Regions from separate parts of the Homo sapiens genome. Here region 2 is linked to region 1. Evidence: promoter capture Hi-C in 16 types of primary human blood cells and fetal thymus (Javierre and others, 2016). All regions are on one chromosome and are shown on one strand. The core of a region is centred on a gene start or on the middle of the fragment in contact, and the rest is flanking DNA. Distances in the headings are between cores, read along the strand shown. Region 1 holds the start of LINC02907 (long intergenic non-protein coding RNA 2907). Region 2 has its middle 17 kb from the start of OLFM1.

Region 1 (7,442 bases), core at 2,452-4,951:
GGCTGGGAAGGCCAGGAGCAGCCCCTAGGAAGCTGAAGCCAAGCATGGTGGTGTGGGGTTGGACACTCTGTTCCCTGACATGCTTGCTGGGAGCGGAGGCCACCTGCCACCAGGCAGGGTCAGCCAGACCTGAAGCTGCCAACCTTTGTCCTGGAGAGGGGTCCTCTTAATGCCACCTGCTCTGTGTGTGTCCCAGCAGGCCCGGGTGGTCCCAATCTTCAACTCCGTCCCCGGGTCCCTATGTGTTCACCCACATGTGTAAGGCTGCATGAGACACAGGAAAGGGGACACCTCGCCAGGAGCTCCCCAGGTGCACCAACTTCTGCCCTTGAACTGCCCCCCTCCCGACAGGAAGAAGGCTGGACCACCTCACTCCCGGCTTCTGGGGTCTTCCCGGGTGAGGGCTGGCTACCAAGTACGCTACTGCAAGAGACAAGTAGCTCTTTTGCCCAGAAAATAAAGGGCTTAGAAGGGCAAATTGATTCTGGTGCTGCTTAAAGAGAAATAACCGCTTCCGCCCGGGATTTTAATTACGGAGCTCTGCAAGAGCTGTGAACTCTGTTTTTCTTCATTATTTTCGGAACTAGTTCTCCTCCTTCTCCCCCTACTTCCCACCACCACGTCCCTGTTTGCTCCTCGACCTTCTCTTGTGTTTTCCAACCCAGTGACTCAAAGCAAACCGGAGTTGCTGCTGGATGCTTTCAGGGGCTGAATTTTAGCATTCTATTAAAATTTCAATGGATGTCGTGTGAGTTGGGGAATTTCCTATCTGCAGAAACCTTTGCCTTCATTCTAGTTAAGAAAATAAAAAACAAAAAGCCTGTTCCCTGTGGCTCTGTAATCCAAACGCTATAAATTCCAAAGAATAAAGGGAGCTTGGCCCCCCCTCGAGACCCCCTTTCCCTGGCATGGCTGGCAATCAGGCCTCTAATTACGTTTCCTGTTTGCAACTGGCAAATAAAATATTTAGGCAGCCTACACTGAGTGTTCCAGGCCCGGCCCGGCCCGCAGCTGCACTGCCCCCAAACAGGAAGGCATACAGACAAAAAAATTAAATGAAACAAATGGCAGATAAATACAGGCGCGTTGTTTTAAAAATTCATAAACACTAGCCTCTGATGCAATTTATTTTGGTTAACTAGTGAAAAACCCATGTAACTTACTGAAGAGATTCGATTGAAGCATGATTTTTCAAGAAATGCCATTGAATGGCTTCTCACCATGTGTGCTGTGGCTCAGCAGGCTCCCAGAATGGGGTGTCCCCCAGGTCCCATCAGAACCTAACAAACAGACAAAGTGGCCAGCAACAGCTGCACAGGGGCTGCACGGACGGGGCGTCCGCTCTGCTGCTGACCAGATGGGCAGGCCCAATAAACAACCCCTCAGTTTCTCCATCTGTGACTCGGGAGCCATCAGCAGAAAGCTCTTGCAGGGCTGTGGGGAGCTCAGTGCACCCATGAGGGCATCACAGGCACGGTGCCCTGCACCTCAGGGGTGCCCTGGGCGGGCAAGGTCTTCTTCCAGCCTGACTGCCCCAAGAAAGGGATAGGGTGCTTTGCACAGACCCCAAATCCACAGTCCAAGCTGCGGTGTAGTTTTGCTGAGATTCTGGAAATTCCTTTCTATTTTGCAAAAAGAGGAGCCAAGGACCAGCACCAGAGGGGTGGCCCGGGGCCCAGGCACCCACCCAACTGAGCTGCGGCAGAGGGCAGCGGGCTCTCTGCAAACTGTAACAAGTTGGCTCTGTGGCCCTGTCTGTCAGAGGAGGAGGCTGTTCCCAGGAGACGTGGGCTCCACGGGAGACGCGCCGGCTGCGCTCAGCGGGGAGAGGTTGTCGCTCCAGTCCCTAGTGGAGGTCTGTTTGTGCAGGAAGCCGTCATCAGCAGAGAGGCTTTTATAGAAAGCCTCACCATTCCCCCTGCACCTAATTTGAGATGAAGGAACTCATTTGCTACGGAAGGCTCTAGAAAGTGGCTGCTGGCATGGTGGCAGGTGTGTGGGGATGGGAGAGGTGGCAAGAGGTCCAGGGACCCAGGCAGGATGGCCACTTATGGGTGTCCAGGCACCCACAGCTGACCCATGGGGCCCAAGCAAGAAGGACGCCAAGGCCACAGCGGGTGGAAGGGACCTGGTGGGAGACCCAGCTGAGGACAGCAGAGGCTGAGGACAGCAGAGGCTCAGCCCCACTTCCCCTGTGGTCCCTCACAAAGCCCCTCCCTCTTTCCAGACTCCTCCCCTCAGAACCTTCTCCGTCCGCCCACCGGCCAAGGCTCAGAGGGCTCTGGGGAAGGCGTGCGGGGTGGCAGGGCCCACCCAGGGTCCGGGTGCACCTGCAGGGCAGGCCCCGAGCTGCTCACCTCCCTGCTTTCCTCAGCCTCGAAGCAGCCAGGGCTCCTGGGCAGGGCGCCACAGCAGCCTCTATTTACCCCTCTGTAAAATGGGAAGAAAGTTCTCCCCAGGTGAGGCTGTCTCATGACTAAATCAGACACTCCAAGCTGATGCTCTGAAGCCACAGGTGTCCCTGCATCCCCATCACTAATACTGTCCTCTTTCCTACCATGGACAGGGGGCTCAGCGCCCAGGAAAAGAGCTCCACACTTTTCTAGCATCCCCTCGGGAGCTCTGGTTCCATAGAAGGGGGCTCCCAGTGTCCGATGGGGCTGAGCACAGCATGCAGCTGGGGCCCCCGTGTCCTAGGGATCCGAGAGCACACTGTTGGGCAGCAGCTCCTGGACGGGGCCCACCAGCCTTTGTGCAAACCAAGAAGGAGCTCGTCCCCTGGTACCAGGGCACCCAGCTGGCAAGCACAGGTGGCTGGACCCTGGCTCCCTCATTGGCACCTGCGGGGCCACATCGTGACCTTTGTGGGCCCCAGACACCATTCCCCCTGCACCTGATGGATCCATCGCTTTGCCCAGCCTTGGCTCTCGAGGTGACCTTCAAGGACTGCTGCAAGGACTGCCCCGCCAAGGAGCCTGGCACAGGCTGTTGGACACAACCCCAATTACTGACAGGTTCGCAAAGACACCCAAGCTGCAGGGCCTTGGCAGACGGGTAAGCAGCCTGATCTCGTCCAGAAATCTTGTCCACGTGCACCTCCCGGGAGCCCTCCTTCGGAGATGGCCGAGGCCTGATGCCCCAGAAGTCACTGTGTCCAGCTCCCACCTCTCCTGCCCCTCAACCCCTCAGTTCCTCCCTGGGAACCACCTGTCAGCTGCCCCAGCCTGGATTTGTGTTTTCACCCGGGAGTGACTCGGGGCCTCTGGTGGCCTGGGGAGATGGGGGAGCTTCCTGGGTCCAGGCACCAGCAGTCACCTCTGTCCCCAAGGAAGGCCCTGCCAAAGGGCCGGGCACCAGGTGCTCCACGTTTAGGCCAGGACTAGTTGATGGCTGCCCAGGCTCCCAATGACACATTCCCCTCCTCCGGGGTTGTCCCTGCTGGGCCTCTGTGCCAGCTGACAGCCAGAAGTCTGGTGATCGAGCCCGGTGGGGTCTCTGCCTGGGGAGGGATCCCTGGGTTTTGTCCCCATGCAGTGGGGGCTCAGGAAGTGCCCCCCAGCTTCCTCCTGCCTCTCAGCATTCCCAGCTGCCAGCACAGAGAGGCTGGGCTCAAGTCTTCTCCAAGGCCAGTGCCACCCTCCACCAGGTCCCACTGAGCCTCATGGGGCTGGTGGAGCCACCTGCCCACCTCAGCACTGCATCTCCAGCCAGGGCTGAGTGGCAGTGTGGGCACCGCGGCCCGGGACGACAGCCTGGGCTCAGAGTCAGGCTTGTGGCTTCGCCTCTCAGCTTGCGTCTCCTCCCCTGTGGGATGGGGGATTCCGTGGCACCCCCATGATGAACAGGATGCCATGGGCCTCAGCCCAGGGCAGACCTCAGTGTCCTTCCTGTGGCCGCTGCTGGAGGTGCGTGACCACAACACAGGTGTGTATCGATGTCACTTTGCGTCATGCCTGTGGGGAGGGCCCTCTCGCCCCATGGTCTCCATGGGGCCTCATCACACCTGGGAGGTAACTGGGGCATCTCAATTTTACAGATGAGTAAATGGAGGCTCAGAGCAGTTACAGGCTGAGGCTGAGACCTGGGCAGGTCTTTGTCATCTTGGAGTCCAGCACATACACAGGGCTAGCCTCCAATGGGCTAAAGGGAGCTGCCTCCTATACCTCCCTGTCCCCAGACACACACACAGAACCCCCACATATGCACAAGAGCACACGGCCACAGGAGTGTGTGCAGGTGTGTGCATGCATGCATGCGCATGCACACACATCCTTGCACAGAATGCACAAGGCACACACAGGCACAGGCGTGTGCACACACGTGTACACACACACATGCCTGCATGCATACCTCCCGGCTCCACAGAGGGGAGGGGGCATTTCCCAGGCAGGCTATGCTTCTCCAGCAGTGAGCGAACAAAATCTGTGCTCTGGGTGCCCAGAGCCCGGCAATGAGGGGATCTCACACCCTCCAGGGAGGGGACTCGTCCCCGCCACTGTGCTGACGCCTGGGTCTCCAGAGACCCTCCTGGAACTCCGCCAGGCCTTCCTGGGTTCCAGACAGGCCCGCCACGGGCATGACGCAGCGCCATCTAGCGGACAGCAGGGCTGCAGCGTGGACAGAACGGCCGGACGCCCAGTCCTGGGCTGGCGGCTGAGGAACAGCCTCACAGGGCAAGAGGGCAGGCAACACCTGCATCTTTCCGGCATAAGAACCTCAAGAAAAGCAAAGGAATATAAGCCTGTGTTCTTTGGAGCCACCGAAATCTCTGTTCTCATGGCAGTCGCTGAAAGTTTAAGGGAGCCGCCACCGCCCCAATGGGGTTGGTTTCTTTCTTCCCTGTTTTTAAAGATCTTTTAAAATGTCTAGAGAGACCCTGGGATCCAGTGCTGGACGGATGATGCAGGTTTGTGTGCATTTGGGTTCTTGCCCCACCCTCAGCCTCAGCCACAGCCACAGCATGGCTCCCTGGTGGTCTCGGGAGCAGGTGAACAGGGAGGTCCTGCTGTCGGTGCAGACCCCGCTCTCACGTCAGCCACTTTGCTGGGTAGGAATGAACTGAGACACTGCAGGGCACCCGCTAAGCCCACATCAAGCTCTAATTCCACAGTTATTTTGCAAAGAGGATAATGTTCCCCTGAGGACTCGCTGGATCATCTGCTCTCGGCCAGGGTGGCTGCAGGGCTGTGGGCAGCTGGTGCCTCTAGACAAGACATCTTCACCCCAAAACCCCAGGCCTGAAGTCCCAGGACCCCTTTCTCACCACAGTGACCACCAGGTGGCAGGTCAGGTGCAGAGGGGCCCTCTGCACCCCCAACTCTCAGGGGGATGGGACACCCACCACCCCTCAGGGCCTTCATCCCTCCTGTAAGTAGAGGCTTGCCTTTTGGATACCATGGCAGGGATCTCACATTCATGCCACACAGCAATTCGTGGGGACCTCAGAGATACGCGGGGAGGGCAAACAAGGCCCGCATCTGGAGTACAGCAGCGGGCTTGGCTGGAAGGATGTAAAGGGCACAGGCCGTCTGTCTCTACCCACAGCCCCTAGAGCCTGCAGCGTCGTGCTGCTGGTGAGAAAGACGGCGGCACCATCACATGCGAGAGACAGCTGTCTGTCGAGAGCCTGCTTGGGCTCCCAGGCTCCCTCATCGCCTGACACCCCCACGTGGGGAGGGGGCGATGACCTTTCACGTAGAGGAAGTTGAAAGCTGCTTTTTTCTTTTTGAATCTCATCTCCACTCAGGGCCACACAGAGAGGCTATTGTGTGTCACTTGCTGGGTTAGGAACAGACGGATCAGGGCTTCTATGCTGCGTCTGCCTGGTCCTGGGAGAGAGAAACTCACACAACCATCTGCCTGGAAGACCTGGGCTTCTCAGGCTAGAGGGTCTGCACATGTAGGTGTGTGTGCATGCATACATATGCCTGCGTGTGGATGTCTGTGCTTCACACAAACAAGTGTACTTGTGGGCATATGTGTGTGTGTGCCTGCATGTGCAGCTCTGGGTATGTGTGTGTGCGCATGCCCCTGAGTCTCTCTGCATGTGATGCATTTGTGCATGTGTGTGCCTGTGTGCCCGGGTCTGTGTCTATATATATGCATGCATGGATATGCATACGTATGTGCATTTCTGCACATGTGTGCGTATGCCTGTATGTGCCTGGCTATGTGCACACACATGTGAATGTCTGAGCAGCTCCAGAGGGAGGGCCACCACCCTGCATGGTGGACATTAGTTTGAGCCTGTGAGGACCAGTGTCCCCCAAAGCCCCTCAACTACAGCCCAGCCCAACCCAACCCGGAGCAGATCACAGGCCCCAGAGACATCTCCAACCCTCACACATGGTTCCCAAACCCGGGCTATCCTTCACTCTGCAGGGGCGGGCCAGCCCTGCCCACTGCCAGGGACCCGCTCCAAGGCGCCTGCAGGAGGGCTGTGGGCGACAGTGTGGGCGCCCACCAGCAGGAGGGCCTGTCATGGTCTGTGCACGAAGCTGGTGCGCTGTCTTCTCCAGGAACTCGCACCTTCGCTCCCCCTCCCCTGCCAGCCAACACTTTCAGGTTTCTGCCATAAAAGAGAAAAAAATCTCCCTCCCTCTCTACCCGCTCCGCGCCTGCTCCTTCTCCACTTTTTGCAGATCAAACAGCATGCATGGAGTCGAGCCTGCTGGCTCTGTTCCGAGCTGCACTTTGGGCATCCGTGGGCTGCCTTGCTCCTTGTGGGGTGGCTTCAAGAGCAGGTCCCAGGTGTGCCTGCAGCAGTGCCGACACCCCTGAGAACACAGCGCACCCCAGCTTTCGGCGCCAACCACACAGCCAGCAACTGGGCTTGGAAGCTTCCCTGAGGTCGACGCTGCCTGGAAATGGACTTTGCTGCCTGCATTCAGGCCAGGGGCCATGTTTGCTCCCCCATTACAAGTTGGCCTCATATTAACATGTCTGAGGACTAAGGCTGGTATTCTAGAACACGCCTTTCACTGATTGTGTTAAATAAAAGAGAAAGATGAAAAAACTCAGGAGAATTGGCGGTACCCGCTGTCCCCGTTTCTCCCCTCCCACCAGCTCCACGGCCCACTCCAATCTGGCGCCCAGGCCCGGAGCGCCTCCACCCCCAGCAGCTCCTCCTGGGCCAGGGACCAGTCTCGTCCCACGCCTCTGCAGCCCTGGGGTCACCACTGGCCACTCCCTTCAAGAAGCACACTCAGGTCTGGGCTTGGATGATGCCCCTGGTGGCCCTGGGGCCTCCCTGGCACCTCCTCCTCTGGCCTCACCCTCAGGCCAACCTGTCACACCCGGCTTCAGCTCCCACCTGCCCGAGGAGAATGCTCTCAGGCCGCCCTGCAGGCTCTGGGCCGGGGCTCTGCCTCCTCCTCCCAAAGACCCAGCGAGTCCAGACTTCACCCTCCTCCAGCTGCCATCCAGCCCCCCGGCACCCCTAG
Region 2 (7,442 bases), core at 2,259-4,758, 270 kb before region 1:
GGGAGACACATGTGGGGGGGAGACACGTGGTTGGGGGGGAGACACATGCAGCAGGGAGATACATGCAGTTGGAGGGACACATGCAGGAAAGGAGACACATGTGGGGGGGAGACACATGCCAGGGGGGAGACACATGTGGGGAGGGGAGACACATGCAGAGTGGGGGACACATGCAGGAGAGGAGGCACATGTGTGGGGGAGACACATGCATTTGGGGGGACACATGCAGGAGAGGAGGCACATGCAAGAGGGGAGACACATGCAGTGGGGGAGACACATGTGGAGGGGAAGACACATGTCTGGGGGAGACACATGTTGGGGGAGACATATGTGGGGGGGAAGACACGTGGGGAGGGGGGACACATGCGGGGAGGAAAACACATATGGGGGGAGACACATGTGAGAGGGAGACACATGCAGTTGGGGGGGACACATGCAGGAGGGGAGACACATGCCGGGGGAGACTCATGCTGGGGGGAGACACATGCACGGGGGGGAGACACATGCAGCGGGGAAGACACACGCGGCAGGGAGCGGTAGGGACACAGGCAGAGGGGAGAGACACATGCAGGGTTGGGGGAGACACATGTCGGGGGGAGACACATGCAGCGGGGAGACACATGCGGGGGGGAAGACACATGTGGGGAGGGGAGACACATGCGGGGAGGAAAACACACATTGCGGGAGACACATGTGGGGGAGAGACACGTGCAATGGGGGGGAACACATGCAGGAGGGGAGACACATGCCGGGGGAGACTCATGCTGGGGGGAGACACATGCACGGCGGGGAGACACATGCAGTGGGGAAGACACACGCGGCAGGGAGCGGTGGGGACACAGGCAGAGGGGAGAGACACATGCAGGGTTGGGGGAGACACATGCGGAGGAGCAGGGGACATGGAGATGCAGCAGAGACAGCTTGAAGGTGCTGGCCTGGAAGACTGGAGCAGCCACAGGCCTAGGAACACCCAGGGCCTCCAGAAGCTGCAGGAGGCAGGAAGGATCCTCCCCTAGAGCCTCTGGAGGGAGGACAGCCCTGCCAACACCTTCGTCTTGGACTTCTCCCCTCCAGAACTTGGAGAGAATGAATCTCCGTTGCCTTAAGCTTCTCAGGTTGGGGTATCTTCTCACCATCAGCCCTGTCTGATGTAATAACGCTCTCTCTCCCTCACTAGGGCTCTGTTTGCCTTCAGGGAGCTCTAGTGAGGGAGAGAGAGCCTTACTCCATCACACAGTCAGAAAAGCTAAGAAAACAAAGCAGAGTCCAGGGCCTGAATGAAGCCGGGGTGGGATTCACATGGCGTCAGGGACAACAGGCTCCTGGCAGGAAAGCAGGGATGTCCCCAAGCAGCCTCAGGGCAGGGCAGTGCAGCCGAACAGGACTGAGCGAGGGGAGAGAAAGGGGGTGGGATATGAGAGGTGGTGGGGACCTCATGACAGAGGACGGAGGGCTCTCAGCCCTGTGGGAAGCCTCTGCCGGGTCAGGACCTCAGGGAAGATTCTGTAAATCCACCCTGGCCGCAGGGTTAGGGAGGCGGCAGGGAGACTGGAGGATGCAGTTGAGTGGTTGATGACTGTGTGGGGCGGTGCTGGATAATTCAGGTTGGCCCGAAAGACTTGCGGGTGAGTTGGATGTGAGATTTAAAAGGAAGCGGGTTGCCCGGCATAGCTCCTGGAATTTGGGCCTGGGCAACAGGAAGGGCGGAACTGCTGTTCCCTGGACTGGGAAGGTGGGGCAGGAGCTGGCTGGGTCTGGGGTAGGCTACAAAGAGCCGTGCTGCAGACTCGCCAGGTGCACAAGCACGTTAGATACCAAGGGACACTGTCAGGTGGTGCAGTATGAGCTGGGAATTCAGAGAAGAGGCTATGCTGAGATGTAAGTGAGGGGAGCACAGCAATGGGAGTTCCTGTCCTGCGCTGGAGGAGGCACCTGGCGGGGGGCCATGGAGGACAGAGCCTTGAAACACCCAACCATTAGAAGGTGGGAAGGTGCAAGCCTGGCCAACATGGTGAAACCCCGTCTCTACTAAAAATACAAAAATTAGCTGGGTGTGGTGCATGCACCTGTAGTCCCAGCTACTTGGGAGGCTGAGGCAGGAGAATCATTTGAACCCGGGAGGCGGAGGTTGCAGTGAGCCAAGATCTCGCCACTGCATTCCAGCCTGCAGACAGATTGAGACTCCATCTAAAAAAAAAAAAAAGAAAGAAAAGAAAGTGGGAAGGCGGTGAGGCCCAGCACAGCACAGAGCCTGGGGAGGAGCAGCCAGGGAGGGACGAGGGCACGCAAGGCAGGGGCATGCACCATCCAGAGGAAGCGAGGCTTCCAGGGTAGAGGGAGGAGAGTCTGTGCCGGGTGTCGCTGGTTCCCTCCAGTCAGATGAAGGCTGGCATTGCCACCGTTGCGTTTGATGACGAGGAAGTCGCTGGTGAGCTTGCCCAGAGCTGTGTGGAGGAGCAGCCTGGAGAGATGGGATGTGGACATTCATCTCTGCAAAGGAGGACAGAGAGGTGGGGCGTGGCTGCAGGGGATGAAAGGAAAGACATTTCTTTGGTGAAGATGGGCAAAAACGGCAACATGTTTTCGACGAGAGGACAGGTGTGGGGAGACAGAGCAGGGAGGGGGCAAGCTCCCGGGCCCACGGAATGGTGGTCCTGCATGGGGGCAGAGATGATTCACCTCCTGCAAGGAGCAAGGCAGGGCCAGGCAGGAGTCTGGGTGGTGGATCTTGTGATGGGAGCTGAGAGTTGGGCTGGGCCTTCCTCGGTGCAGTGAGAATCATGTCATCTGCCGGGGGAGAGGTGTGAGGAGGAGGGCCAAGGGGCAGGGGAGAGGTGTGAGGAGGAGGGCCAAGGGGCAGGGGAGAGGTGTGAGGAGGAGGGCCAAGGGGCAGGGGAGAGGTGTGAGGAGGAGGGCCAAGGGGCAGGGGAGAGGTGTGAGGAGGAGGACGGAGGGGCAGGGGAGAGGTGGGAGGAGGAGGGCCGAGGAGCAGGGGAGAAAGAGTTAGAGCCCCTCCAAGGGAGTTGGGGCTGTGGGCAGGGGGAGGCAGAGACAGGATTTCAGGACTCCCTTGGGCTGGGAGGTCATGAATTCAAACAGGGACCAGTCCACAAGGCGGTGTGATTTCCCTGGCCCTGCTCAGCTGTCAGGGAGCAGGGAGGGGTGGACAGAGAGTTGGGTGTCGCCAGGAAGACAGGAGGATGGGCAACGCCAGGGAACTGAGAGCACAGGAGAGACTTCTGGAGGAATCACAGCTGGACAAGCAGGGAAGTGACGAGGGGGAGACCACGGAGCAGGGTTTGGTGCTGCCTGCCCCGGCTGAACACCGGCAAGTGCACGACTGACTCCCGTGAACATCAAATGTGCTCCTAGGCTGCAAGGATTTAGTGAGAGAATGGCATAAGCTCAGCGCGTGCCCAACACACAGTGGGGCTGAGAACTCCAAACCACCCAGGTGGTCCCAGAAGCAGAGCTGGCCACCCTTTCCTTGCTTGACGGCTTCCAAACAGAAGCAGCTGGTTGCCGTGCACAAGTCCAGGGAGCTGATAAGGAGGGGCAGCCTGGGTCCTCTGTGAGCCTATTCACCACCGCCCCAGGCCGGTGTCCCCAGGGGCCAGGGAGGCCATCTGGGTGCTCGCTCGGCTCAGCTGGATTTGGAGAGGGTGAAGCCGGCAGCCTGAAGGCTCAGGGCACAGGGAGCCGATCGCGTGGATTTTGGGTCCCATTTGCTAGGAAATTCGCAGAGAGGAGGGGAGAGTTAGTGCCGTTGCCTTGGCAACGCTCTGTCACATTCTAATGGGGCTCAGCAGTAGAAGGAGGCTTGTCTTAGAGGAGCACAAAGCAGATCGATTTGCTGGTGTCCTGAGGCAGCTCAGCGGGAAAGCGGCTGCTTCCTGGGTGCCTGCTGCCCAAGCTCCATCAGGAAGGCAGCAGAAGAGGGGCGGGTGGGGGTGTCCCAGGACCCACGGTACCCACCAAAGAGTGAGGCGGGCTGATGCTGGGTACCCACTTGGCCTCATCCCAAGGTAGCTCAGGATCTCAGAGCTGGGGTGGAGGAGGTGGGCAGCTGCCCCAGACCGACTGGAGCTTTGGGACCCAGGCCCCACACCCACCTCTACATGGAGCCTCTGCTCTAGGGAGCTTCCTGATTTTGCAGACAGGAACGCCATGGGATGAGGAAAAGACAAGCATCTAAATCTGTCAGCAGTGAGGTGTGTTGGTGTCACGGGCTGTGGCCTCCCTCTACCTGAACCTCAGCCAACCCCAAAGGGGTGGACACAATGAAGAACTCGGAGCAACCTCCTCGAGGGGCCCGAGTGGATGCCAGATTCCCCAAAATCCAGAACTAGAGCCAAAGAGCTAGGAGCTTGGGTTGCAGAAGCAAATATAAATATTAAAAGTACGGACAAGATACAAATAATACAAGCAGTACAGATTGAGAGGAGGGACAGGGTGGCCAGAGAAAGAGGAGCTGAATATTACCCAGGCTTTCAAAAGAGGAAGTGGGCGTTATTGTCAAAAACGGGACCACGGGATAGAGAATGTCTAATTCCAAACAGTTAACGGTCTTCATAGACTTTTCCTTCTCAATCTTAGAAGGTTCTTCTAGGAAACAATGCCTCGCATGGTGAAGATAAACGCGCTTGAAGTCAGCAGCATCTTCGGCTTGACTTTGTTCCCCTTCCTTCTTTACGTTGCAGTTCAATCTAATATTTCTGGGCTGCAAAGCCTGGGAAGGATGATGTCATCTTTTACACCAGCATTTGCCCATCCTTCCTATTTCTTTCTAGCCATTGCCACGTGCCAGGCACAGTTCTAAATATTTGGCACGGCTGTGGCTCCCTGACGCCACTCAGCTGGGCACTGAGGTGGGGCTGCCATCATCAATCCACCCCCAGGGAGATAAATGGGGCCCGGAGAGGGTGACTGGCCCAGGGCCTCAACAGCTCCCAAGAGGGGGGCTCTGGCTTGGCACCCAGGCCATTTGGTCTTAGAGGCCACCCTCTTACGTTTGCACATTTTGCATTTCCTGATCACGTGCACAGAGGAATGCCTGCAGAGCAGCCCCATGGTCAACACTGGCTATTCTGGGTAGGGGGCTTTCGTTACTTTTACATTCTTCTTTGTATTTTATCTTTTTAAAGAAATACAATAATAAGTCTGTATTTTTTTTTAAAAAAAAAACAGCTTTATTAAGATATAGTTTACAGGTGGTGGCTCATGCCTGTAATCCCAGCACTTTGGGAGGCCGAGGCGGGCGGATCACGAGGTCAGGAGATCGAGACCATCCTGGCTAACATGGCGAAACCCCGTCTCTACTAAAAATACAAAAAATTAGCTGGGCGTGGTGGCGGGCGCCTGTAGTCCCAACTACTCGGGGGGCTGAGGCTGGAGAATGGCATGAACCTGGGAGGCGGAGCTTGCAGTGAGCTGAGATCGATCCACTGCACTCCAGCCTGGGCGACAGAGCGAGACTCCGTCTCAAAAAAAAAAAAAAAAAAAAAAATATATATATATATATGTTTTACATACCATACAATTCACTCACTTAAGGTGTACAATTCAATGGTTTTGGTATATTATATTACTATATTTTTAAAACTGTGGTTACATATGCATAACATAAAATTTACCATTTTACCCATGAAGTGCACAAGTTTGTGGCACTGATGACATTCACCATATTGTGCCACCGTCACCACTGTCGACTTCCAAAACTTTGTCATTATTCCAGGCTTAAACTTGTACCCACTCACCAATCATGTCCCAACCTCCTTCCCCTTAGCCCCTGGTAACCACTAATCTACTTCCCAGCTCTGTGAATGTGACTACTCTAGGGACCCCATAAAAGCAGAATCCTGCAGTACTTGTCCGTCAGTGACCGGCTTATTTTGCTGAGGATAATGTCTTCAAGCTTCATCTGTGTTGTAGCATGTGTTGGAATTTCCCTTCTCTTCATCGCTGGTAACAGTTCATTGGATGGAGCACATCTGTCTGTTGATGCATCTGTTGATGGACACAGGGGTTGTTCCCACTTTTTTGTTTGTTTGCTTATTTGTTTTATTAAGATGGTGTCTCGTTCTGTCCCCCAGGCTGGAGTGCAATGGCGTGATCTCGGCTCACTGCAACCTCCGCCTCCCTGGTTCAAGCGATTCTCCTGCCTCAGCCTCCTGACTAGGCGGGACTACAGGTGCCCATCACCACACCTGGCTAATTTTCGTATTTTTAGTAGATACTGGGTTTCACCATGTTGGCCTGGCTGGTCTCAAAGTACTGACCTCAGGTGATCCACCCGCCTCGGCCTCCCAAAGTGCTGGGATTACAAGCGTGAGACACCACGCCCTGTCTGTTCCCACTTTTTGGCTGTTATGAATAATGCTGCCATGAACGTAGGCGTGTACATATCCGCTCCAGTCCCTGCTTTCTCTTCCCTTGGGTGTGTACTCAGAAGTGGAATTGCTGGGTCACCTGGTGTGTAACTTTAAAAATAAAAACCATCCTTGCTAAAATTGGATCTGAGGCCTCAGTCCACTCAAGGAAATCAATGCAGCCTTCCTCCCCAGCCCACAGGAACAAAACCCCAAAGACGGGGGTCGCACTCCAGCTCTATGGCCATGTCACAGGTCTCCCAGAGCCCAGACATTTATTAGCGGCCACTTGGAGCATCAATGTGAAGGCTGAAGGAGAAACTTGGGTCGAGGCCTGGGGTGCTGCGCGTGCCCCATGCACGTAGAGTTCTTAAGCATATAGAGTGTGTTTATTCCTGCACTGGATCTCCTCAGTAGCCCCGAGACCTGCAGTATATGGACCATTCATTCCCATTCGACAGATGTGGGGACTGAGGCTCAGACAGCCACTACCCGGAGATCCCTTCAGCTCCAAACACAGGGTCCACTCCGGCCCCTGGCTGCCTCTCTCAACGATCCCCAAGGGGCTTACAAACAGCTTTCCTCCATTCTAGGACAACAAAGACACTGGGGGTAGTAACATGAGGGGGGCAGAGAGAAAAGAAGCCTCCACAGCTGCACCCCCCCCCCAATTTCTTCCCAGCACCATCTCCTCACAGAGTCTTGGGGGCCACCCTGCCTCAGGGGCCGTGGCATATCACCAGGAATGCCACTGCTTAAACTCGTCTGAGGCTGGGAAGCCCACCCAGACCAACAGGCGGGCCCTCTGGCTTCCCTGGAGGGAGCTCTGTCCCCAGCACTCAGAGAACAGAGTCCCCACAGCAAAGGCCCTCAGGGTGCAACGGCCGTGTCGGAGGGCCCCTTCCCATCTTCTCTTCTTCAGCACATGTGCCCAGCTCCTGCACCCAATGCCCAGGGGATGCCTCCCAGATGCCAGCAGCATGGTGACAGGGGCAGGAGGTGGCATTGTCCTTGTTCTGGATATCCCTGGGTGACCCCGGTACGTGACTCCCCTGAACTCCAGCGGCCTCATCT

The links. The method cuts DNA at HindIII sites, captures the fragments that hold promoters and counts their contacts. A CHiCAGO score of 5 or more calls a contact.
Region 2: a contact is called between a fragment that was not itself captured here and the fragment with the promoter of LINC02907 in region 1, in 1 of 17 cell types (endothelial precursors). The highest score is 5.2, in endothelial precursors.

The regions. Positions count from the first base shown.
Region 1 is chr9:135,339,548-135,346,989 of GRCh38, forward strand. LINC02907 (long intergenic non-protein coding RNA 2907) reads left to right here and starts at 3,702. Exons shown (of 3, transcript NR_171012.1): 1 at 3,702-3,924; 2 at 4,475-4,906; 3 at 5,747-7,015. RefSeq lists an enhancer at 2,743-3,455. The HindIII fragment of the contact is 15,144 bases long and covers 1-6,837 here.
Region 2 is chr9:135,066,644-135,074,085 of GRCh38, forward strand. No RefSeq gene overlaps it. Among named protein-coding and RNA genes, the nearest start is that of OLFM1, 17 kb to the right of the region's middle. RefSeq lists an enhancer at 3,252-4,149. The HindIII fragment of the contact is 4,807 bases long and covers 1,106-5,912 here.